Regions from separate parts of the Homo sapiens genome. Here region 1 is linked to region 2. Evidence: promoter capture Hi-C in 16 types of primary human blood cells and fetal thymus (Javierre and others, 2016). All regions are on one chromosome and are shown on one strand. Each heading gives the region's core, a stretch centred on a gene start or on the middle of the fragment in contact. The rest is flanking DNA. Distances are from core to core; before and after follow the strand shown. Region 1 holds the start of ICOSLG (inducible T cell costimulator ligand). Region 2 overlaps PWP2 (PWP2 small subunit processome component).

Region 1 (4,830 bases), core at 1,204-3,703, 130 kb before region 2:
ACAGCCCCATTCATGTATATGTCACACGTCAGGGGATGCAGGCACCAAGGGGCTAAGGAACTTTCTGGGGTCACACAGCTCCGGAGTTGGGATCTGAACCAGCCACCGCTTACCGTGGTCTCCGAGGTTCCTGGGCTGGTCCTGGCACCCTCCCCCGCGGCCGCCTCGGCCTGCCTCAGTGTCCCCTTCTGGCCCAGCTGCCTTCCTGCCCCTGCCTGGCTGTGGCCTCCACGCGGCGTCCCCTCTCTCGGGGGGGCGGGGGGGGGGCTGCCCGCAGCACTTGGCTTGCTGGGGTCTCCGGCGTCTGCCCGGGAAGCAGAGCCTGGACCTGCCCCCTCGGCCACAGCACGGCGGGCCCTGCGGTGTCGGCCCCTCTCCCACCGCCCCCGGGCGGCACTGGGGGGCTGCGGGGTCCGGACGCACCGACAGGGCACCTTCCCTTCGCCGCCGCGGATGACCGGCCGCGCTCTTGGGAGGCCTTAATTTGGGAGGCTCTGCTCCCCCAGGACCCATTCCCCATCCTCCCAAAGCCCCCACGCGGTATCCGGGGGCCGTCCCCCTCTCCGCAGTCCCGCGGGTGGAGGGGATTCAGGTGCGCCCGGCCCTGGGGGTGGAGCGCTCGGCCCGGCGTCAGCTCATCGGCGCGGCGCAGCCCCGGACCTCAGCCGCAGGCCCAGAGGCGCGCGGTTCCCGGCCGGTCAATCAGGGAGGGCCTCCGGGAGGAGGTGGCGCTGCCCGCAGCCCGCCCGGCTCACCTGCGCCCTCCTCACCTGCGCCCTCCTCACCTGCGGGGCCATGCGGTCCCTTACCAGCAGCCGCCCGCCCCGGGGCGAGGAACCTCAGCCCCCAACATCGCCACCCCTCCAGCCTCGCCGGTCCTAGCCGGCGTCCCTGGGCGTGTCCCGGGAAGCGCACGTCCACGCTGGCGCTGGACCGGGTTTTCTGACTCCAGGGACGGGACTCGTCCTAAAGAGTCCGGCTCAGATGCGGTTACGCGCCTCACCTCACCCGGGTGCGGACCGCCAGTGCCTCCGCCCTGCACTCCGCGGGCCCTGCCCAGCTCTTCCCGCCGGAGGGCAGGTGGCCCCCGCCCCGCCCCTGCCAGGCGCGCGATTTTAAATCCCCCCAACCCCCGTCTCTCAGCGTGGCCTGGGAGGGGGAAGCCGCCCGGCTTCAGGGCTTCCTGCGCCTTCGCCGCCGCCCTCCCTGCCCTTCCCCGCCGCCGTCCCCCCTATCCCCCCAGCCCGTCTCTTCCGCCTTCTTATTTTGTGCCTGGGCTCTCTGCTCCGCAAAAATGTTGACTTCCCACGGGCAGAGGTTTCAGAATTTTTTTAAAGCTTTTGTCCACGGCGTTCTCTACATCTTGGTTGAAGGAATGGCAGCCTGCGGGGTGCCGTCTGGGGCCCCCGTCTCCCTGCGCTTCTCGCCTCCTCCATGCGCAGGAGGCGGTGGGGATCCGAGCCTCAGCCCAGAGGCGGGGGCTCCGGGAGGAGGGTGCCCCGCTGCCCTGTCTAGCAGCCTCACCCAGGCCCTTCCGGAGGTGCCTCTGCAGAAAGGGAGTCACGTCCCCCCTGGGCCTCACCTGGCTTGCAGGGATCAGGGAGGGAGGGCGGGGTGGGCTGGGTGCGGTGGGGAAGGAGCAGGGACTCTGGGTCCCACCCTCGGTTGCGTGGTGCAGCCTTTCCCAAACCAGCTGCCCCAGACTCCAGGCCAGACGCCACTGCCAAGGCTGACGAGCCCAGAGCCGCAAGCCTGCCTCGGTTTCTCGGCGGGGGATCCTCAGAGCCAGTGTTAAGCAAAGAGGCTGCGCCAGCGCCCTTCACACCCCTAGAAGGCTAGGGGAGCAAGGCTAGGTGGGGGCGGGCTGGGGCTGGCCCAGAGGGTAGAGCCCGCCCACTTTCCCTCCCTCCTTCCATTCATGCATGCGTTCATTCAGTCATTCATTCCTCAGCAGTCGCTGAGCTCACTCGCCTTAAGTCCTGGAGATCATCGGAGCGCAGCCGGCCAGGGGCCTGGCGCTCTCCCAGCCTTGGGGCCTGGGTCCCCGGACTCCTGCTCGGGGAGGGCCGCAGGACCGGCGCATTGTGCGCGGCGCGGGGAACGGCCCTTGCCTCCCACGGTGCCCTCCCTCGCTGCGCCGGCACCCGCAGCACCCCTGGCCACCTTCCTGCCGGGTACCCCCCACCCCTGCGCTTCCCAGGGCACCTACGGCGCCCAGGTCCGCGTCCAGGCGGACAGGCCGACCTGCCTCTGTCCCGCCTCCGGCCGACGGGCACACGCCTGGGCAGAGCCGAACTTTCCGGAGCCGCCGCGCAGCGCCCCGCCTCCTGTCCCGGGGCGGTCTCGGTCGCCAGAGGAGCCAGGCCGGGGGCGGGGCGGGGACGGGGCGGGGACACGGCTGCCTCCAGCACACCGCGCGCTGGGCGCTCAGAGCCTCGGGCGCGGCGGGAGCGCAGTTAGAGCCGATCTCCCGCGCCCCGAGGTTGCTCCTCTCCGAGGTCTCCCGCGGCCCAAGTTCTCCGCGCCCCGAGGTCTCCGCGCCCCGAGGTCTCCGCGGCCCGAGGTCTCCGCCCGCACCATGCGGCTGGGCAGGTGAGCCGGGGAAGGAGCGGAGGCGCCGCGGTCAGGGGCGGGGTGGCTCGGCCCGCGCGTCCCCAGCTCGGCTCGGACGCGGGGCCTGCGGGGCTCGCCTGGAGGTGCCGGGCTGGCAGTGCGGGTCCGAGGAGCGGGCGGCGGAGGCGCCGGGGCGGCCGGCGGGGCGTGGACGGCAGTGGGCGGCGGGGCCTGGCACCGGGACCCATGGCAGGACGCACAGCCGTGCGGGGGCGGGCTCGGGGGCGGGGTCCCTGCCAGGGAAGGAGGACCGCGAACGCTGGAAGGAGGGAGGGAAGGCGGGCGCACCCTGCACGCCGGGGCACGGGCGCTGCCCCTTCCACTCCCTGGCACTGCTGATTTCCTAGAAGAAGGGAGAAGGAGGGAGGTGACCGGCCGAGCGCTCTCCAAGGCCAGCTGGTGCCCACGGTCTGCGGACACGCCCTCCCCCACACACGTGGGATTCCCCGCAGCCCGGCAGCCGATCCACACTGGGGAAGGCGGGGCTGCCTGAACCAGGAGTGACAGCTTCCTCCTGGATTTTTGCGAAAATATCCAAAATATACTCTTCGCAACCCACGTTGTAGGGTCCGCAGCCTGTGCTCCCCTGGGTGAACCTGTGAGGCCCCTGACCCCAGGGATGCCTCCCGCACAGCTCAGAGCTGGGCCACACCGGAGTCACACTCCCCAGGTCCCCTCCCCATTAGAAGTGTATGCAGTTATGATCCTGCCCTAGAGAGAAAGAATTTAAAGGTCCCGGAATGTCATAGCCCTCCCAAATGTCTTAGCCCTCCGCCACCCACACCTTCAGGTAGGCGGCCCTGTCCATGCTGGGTCTTGAGGCAAGCTCGGGGTGGGGGTAGGTTAGATGCAGGGGTGCTGAGGGTCCAAGGAAAGGACACAGAGGCCGCTGCTTAGGCAGCACCCAGGGAGGGGACAAGCCAGAAACAGCCTGGAGCAGGCACCCCCCACCCTGGCCCAGGAAGCCCCCAGATGTCCTGAGGAGGCCTCCATAGACAGGAGGGGCCTTGTGGGCTGGTGATGAATATGGGCACTGTGGGAGACAAATGGGGGCACAGAGGAGTTCTCACAGCTGTCGTTTAGATGGTGGCTCTGGGGAAATGCTTGAAGGGGCTAAGGGTGGAGGCAGGGGGCCTGCTGGAGGCCATCACAGCCATCTTGCCAGCCAGAATGGTGGCCCCAACAGGGGGAGTGGGAGAGAGAGGAAGGGCCGCCTGCAGACTTCAAGAGCCCCTGGTGGCCAGGGGCCGCCTTGGTGCATGTGTGCTCACTTGGCACAGACACACCTCCATGCAGACTCAGATGACAGCCATCGTGGGTGGGGCAGGGGTTTCTGTGGCTCCAGGGCTCAGGGACAGCCCACTGGGAGGTTCCCACAAGACCAACCTTTGACTTACAAAGCCCCCAAGCTTTCCCAGGCAGAGGCCACAGAGAAGAGGGATGAGCGTCTCCCAGACCTTGGAGGTGCAGGGACATCAGAGAAGGAGATGTCCCTGCTCCTGGGGCTCTTGCTTCATGGGGAGCTGGCCCCAGAAACTGATGGTTTGGGGGGCTGGGGTAAGCACTGCTACCAAAGTGGTCCCGGCCACTAAGGGCCCCCACGTGGGGAAGGCATCCTGGGGGCTGGCGGGAGGAGGTGGCGAGCCTGTGGCGTGCAGGGTGCAAAGGCTCCCAGACCCAAGATGGCAGGGGCATTGGAGTCACGAGGGGAATTTGCTGCCCGAGGCAGGGGCACCAGCTGCAGCAGGATCTGAAACAGGAGGAGCTCAGGTTTGGTTTCAAAATGATCCGCGTTCCGCACAGGGCTGTCCCGTCACTCACCTGACCCTGTCACGGGCACGCCTGATGTTCTCCGTCTCCCCAGCATTTTAAGTGACACTCCTACTATATGTGCCCTGAAAGCTTTTTTTTTTTTTTTTTTTTCTGATTTCCTACAACTTCTTGGCATCTGTCCCCAGGAAGGCTAGACCAGCCTCACTGGCGTCCCTCGCTCCCCTTCATCCTCACGCCAGCATCACTGTGTTTCTGGGGATTTGTTACCGCGAGAGCTAGAGAGTGGTGAGAGGCTGCCAGCCCCTCGGACTTGCTGTGCTGGGCAGGAGGGTGGTGGTCCTGGCCCCGGACCCCGAATTCCCATGGAGAACAGAGGCAGGCAGGCTCCTGGCTCTGCCTTCACATTTCTGTGATGGGCTTAACTACCTCCTGCTCATGGGAACC
Region 2 (5,108 bases), core at 720-3,219:
ACGCACTTGACGTTGTACCGAGTGGCCAGGGGCAGCGTGTCAGATTTGTTGCTGATAAAGACAAAAACCACAGTGTGCTGTTGGTCCTCAAGTCACATGAGGGAGACAGGCCAGGCCTGGCCTGGGACCAGCGGCTCACCCTCCCCAAGTAGCGCCTCCAATCTTACTGGACCCCACAAGCCAGAGCTCATCTGTGGATACCCCCCACTCCTGAAAAAGAAATGACATTGTTGGCCGGGCACGGTGGCTCACGCCTATAATCCTAGTGCTTTGGGAGGCCAAGGCGGGCATATCATAAGGTCAGGAGTACGAGACCTGCCTGGTCAACATGGTGAAACCCCGTCTCTACTATAAAAACAAAAAACAAAAAATTGGACAGGCGCGGTGGCTCACACCTGTAATCCCGGCACTTTGAGAGGCCAAGGCGGGCGGATCACGAGGTCAGGAGATTGAGACCATCCTCACTAACACGGTGAAACCCCGTCTTTACTAAAAATACAAAAAATTAGCCGGGTGTGGTGGCGGGCGCCTGTAGTCCCGGCTATTCAGGAGGCTGAGGCAGGAGAATGGCGTAAACCCGGGAGGTGTAGCTTGCAGTGAGCCAAGGTTGCACCACTGCACTCCAGCCTGGGCGACAGGGCAAGACTCTGCCTCAAAACAAACAAACAAACAAAAAAACCCAAAAAATTAGCCAGGCGTGGTGGTGGGCGCCTGTAATACCAGCTACTCAAGAGGCTGACGCAGGAGAATCGCTTGAACCTGGGAGGCAGAGGTTGCAGTGAGCTGGGACCGCACCACTGCACTCCAGCCTAGGTGACAGAGCAAGACTCTGTCTCAAAAAAAAAAAGAAAAAGAAATGACGTTGTCCCTGGAGGAACTCTAGTGAAATGCATTAAAAGCCTTAAAAATGGGCTTTGGATACATCAATTCTGCTTCCAGGATGATATGATGAGAGGATTATTCCGCCTCAGTGTGACATCAAAATACCAGAAGCAAGCTAAGTGCCCAACAGGAATTAACCACCATGACAGTGCACCCATGTAACACTGTTGCTAGAAAAATGGAAAATAAGGGGCTACAGGAATCCCGCGGAGATGCTGCAGATAACGCTTACACTGCAACTGAGTGAGGCACACACATTCCAGCTTCCCCATAAGCAGCCGAGCTGTGTTTACACCATACTGTAAACAGTACGGCGTAGTCTACTAGCGTGTGCTGTAGTCTGTAAGCGTGCACTGTGCTCTATTCGTGTGAGTTGTAGTCTGTTCGTGTGTACTGTCGTCGAAGTGTGTACTTTATTGGTGTGCGCTGCAGTCTACTCATGTGTGCTGTAGTCTATCAGTGTGCACAAGCATTCTGTCTAAAGCAACAACGTGCATCCCTTAATTTAAAAACACTTTACTGCTAAAAAATGCTAACAATCATCTGAGCCTTCAGTGAGTCTTCATCTTTTTGCTGGCAGACAGTCTGCCTCGATGTGGATGGCTGCTGACCAGGCACAGTGGCAGCTGCTGAAAACGGGGTGGCCGTTGCCAATTCCTAACACAACAGTGAAGCTTGCCGTATCGATGGACTCTTCCTTTCACAAGATGTCTCTGTAGCATGTGATACTGTTTGATAGCATTTTACCCACAACAGACCTTCTTTCAAAACCGGAGTCAATCCTCACAAATGCTCCCAGCGTTTTATCAACTAAGTTGATGTCATATTCTAAATCCTTTGTTGTCATTTCAACAGTCTTTACAGCATCCTCACCAGAAGTAGATTCCATCTCAAGAAACCACTTGCTGGCCGGGCATGGTGGCTCACACCTGTAATCCCAGCACTTTGGGAGGCTGAGGCGGGTGGATCACCTGAGGTCAGGAGTTCTAGACCAGCCTGGCCAACAATGATGAAACTCCTTCTCTACTAAAAATACAAAAATTAGCTGGGCGTGGTGGTAGGCGCCTGTAATCCCAGCTACTTGGTAGGGGGGCCCGAGGCAGGAGAATTGCTTGAACCCAGGAGGTGGAGGTTGCAGTGAGCCAAGATCATGCCATAGCACTCCAGCCTGGGGGACAAGAGTGAGACATTGTCTCAAAAAAAAGAAAAGAAACCACTTGCTTTGCTCATCCACAAGCAGCAGCTCCTCATTCATTCAAGATTGATGGCAACATTGCGGCAATTCAGTCCCATTTCAGGCTCTGCTTTCATTTCGAATCCTCTTGCTATCTTTACTGCATCTGCAGTAACTTCTTCCACCAAAGTCTCGAACCCTTCAAAGTCATCCATGAGGCTTGATACTAAACTTCTGTCAGACTCCTGTTAATGTCGACACTTTGCCCTCATTGAATGAATCATGAAATGACAACTAGAATGGCGACTCCTTCCCAGAAAGCTTTTTATTGGCTTTTCCCAGATCCATTACAGGAATCACTATCTTTGGCAGCTAGAGCCTTATAAAATATATTTCTTAAATGGTAAGACTTGAAAGTTAAAGTTACTCCCGTAGGCTGAAGAAGAGATGTGGTGTTAGCAGGCATGAAGACAGCATCTCCTTATGCGTCTCCATTGGAGCTCATGGGTGACCAGGTACGTTGTCCAACAGCAGAAATATTTTGAAAGGAACCTTAGTGGGTTCAACAATGGGCTGGAAAGATTCAGGAAACCATGCTGTAAACAGATGTGCTGTCGTCCAGACTTTGCTGTTCCACTTATAGAGCACAGGCAGAGTAGCTTGGGCATCATTGTGAAGGGCATTAGGATTTTCAGAACAGTGAATTAGCACTGGCTTCAACTTAATGGCCCCAGCTGCATTAGCCCCTAATAAGAGAGTCAGCCTGTTGTTTGAAGCCAGACACTGACTTTTCTCTAGCTATGTAAGTCCTCGATGGCATCTTTTTCTTTTTTTTTAATTTATTTATTTTTAGATAGAGTCTTGCTCTGTTGCCCAGGCTGGAGTGTACTGGCACGATCTCAGCTCACTGCAACCTCTGCTTCCCAGGTTCCAGCAATTCTTCCACCTCAGCCTCCTGAGTAGCTGGCATTACAGGAATGTGCCACCATGCCTGGCTAATTTTTGTACTTTTAGTAGAGACGGGGTTTCACCATATTGGCCAGGCTGGTCTCAAGCTCCTGGCCTCAAATGATCTGCCTACCTTGGCTTCCCAAAGTGTTGGGATTACAGGCATGAGCCACTGCGCCTGGCCATCTTTTTCCAATAGAAGGCTGTTTTGTCTCCATTGAAATTTTGTGTTTAGTGTAGTCAGCTTCATCAATGATCTCAGCTAGATCTTCTGGATAACTTCCTGCAGCTTCTCCATAGCACTTGCTGCTTCGCTTTGCACTTTTATGTTGTAGAGATGGCTTCTTTCCTTAAACTTCATGAACCAACCTCTGCTAGCTTCCAACTTCTTTCCTGCAGCTTCCTCACCTCAGCCCTCACAGAACAGAGGACAGGTAGGGCCTTGCTGTGCATTAGGCTTTGACTTGCTTAAAGGAATGTTGTGGCTGGTTTGATCTTCTATCTGGATCACTCAAACTTTTATCCGTATCTGCAATAAGGCTATTTTGGCTTTCTTGTAATTTGTGTGTTCACTGGAGTAGCACTTTTAATTTCCTTCAAAAGCTTTTTCTTTGCATTCACAACTTGCCTGTTTGGTGGCAGAGACCTGGCTTTTGGCCTATTTCAGCTTTTGACATGCCTTCCTCACTAAGCTGAGTCCCTTCTAGCTTCTGATTTCAGGTGAGAGTTGTGTGACTCTTCCTTTCACATGAACACGTAGTGGCCACTGTAGGCCATTATTAACTGGCCTAATTTCAGCATTGTTTGTGTCAGGGAATAGGGAGACCCAAGTAGAGGAAGAGAGACGTGGGGGGGTGGGGAACAGCCGGTCGGTGGAGCAGGCACAGCACACACAGTGCTTACCGATTAAGCTCGCTGTCTTACATGGGCACGGATCACGGCACCCCAGAACAATCACGATAGCAACAGCAAAGATGATCACAAATCACCCTCACAGGTATAATAAACTTTGAAATATCACAAAATTACCAAAATGTGACACAGAGACATGAAGTGAGCCCCCACTGCTGGAAAAATGGCACCGACCAACTTTCTCCAAGCAGTGTTTCCACACACCTTCGCTTCGTGGTAAAACAGCATCCGCACAGAGCCAGAGTGCAACAAAGTGAAGCAAAGTGCAACAGCACACAGGAAGAAACCGCTAAACCCCAGCGAATAAAACTGACCTCCGGCTGCAGAGCTGGAAGCTTTGGGCCTGCCCGTCCGACTGGTGAGGCCCAGTGGCAGCAGGGCTCCCGAGCAGGGGTCCAAGGTACCTTCAACTCCCCCAGCAGCCCTGGCCTTTCAGCCCTTAGGGGCCTTCCCTGATGGGGGAAGGGCTAACCCTGAGCTACACCTTTTCCCCCACCCACCCTTCACAGCACAGGGACAGGGTCCCTTCCCACAGAACGGAGCCAAGTGACACACCACTTTATGGGGCCTGGCTAAGGCACTACAACGAAGAACTGGGTCTGGCTGCCAATTTCCACAACTGATCTGCTGACCCTAGTCTGTCCTGTAGTCCTGTCCTGGGCTCCCTTAATTAACGGGTGCACCATTAAAAGGAAGGCACAGAAGACACTATCAGTTTTCATATGTTACTTAAAAAATGGTGATAATAGTAATCAGTATCACTATTATGAATACCACTTTCACATACTTACTTTTTAAGGTCAAATACAGTGACTCTATTGCCCACGGGACTGATAACTGAATTTCCATCGCAGGTAAAATTTAGGTTCCCACGCCGGTACACCGTACCCAGCAAATTTGAAAACTGTGAAGAAAACAAAATTGTCTTAACACAAAGAAAACAGTCGACTCCCAGAAAAGCACTAAGTGAGGCATCTGGGCAGAGAGATGGCATAGAGAACCCCACCTTGGGGGCCCGTTCACCTTTCCTGGGTAAGAGAGGAAGAAGTGAGCCTGATCCTCAGGAGACCAGAGGAGCCCGGGCGGCCCCAAGCTCCCACAGAGATGGGTAAGATGCCCCTGTGAGCACTGAGGAAGCCTCCCAAGACAGGAGGCGTCTGCCAGGTGAAGAGGGGCATGGAGCCCACACTTC

The links. The method cuts DNA at HindIII sites, captures the fragments that hold promoters and counts their contacts. A CHiCAGO score of 5 or more calls a contact.
Region 1: the fragment with the promoter of ICOSLG here is called in contact with a fragment that was not itself captured in region 2 in 1 of 17 cell types (total B cells); the score reaches 6.5 in total B cells.

What each region holds. Positions count from the first base shown.
Region 1 is chr21:44,238,566-44,243,395 of GRCh38, reverse strand. It overlaps ICOSLG (inducible T cell costimulator ligand), which reads left to right and starts at 2,453. Exons shown (of 7, transcript NM_015259.6): 1 at 2,453-2,592. The coding sequence starts at 2,579. RefSeq lists enhancers at 155-693, 3,198-3,976 and cis regulatory regions at 1,727-2,642, 1,718-2,642, 1,643-2,642. The HindIII fragment of the contact is 2,685 bases long and covers 1,340-4,024 here.
Region 2 is chr21:44,108,696-44,113,803 of GRCh38, reverse strand. PWP2 (PWP2 small subunit processome component) reads right to left here. Exons shown (of 21, transcript NM_005049.3): 2 at 4,708-4,820; 3 at 1-51. Among named protein-coding and RNA genes, the nearest start is that of PWP2, 3.9 kb to the right of the region's middle. RefSeq lists a silencer at 2,489-2,691. The HindIII fragment of the contact is 821 bases long and covers 1,559-2,379 here.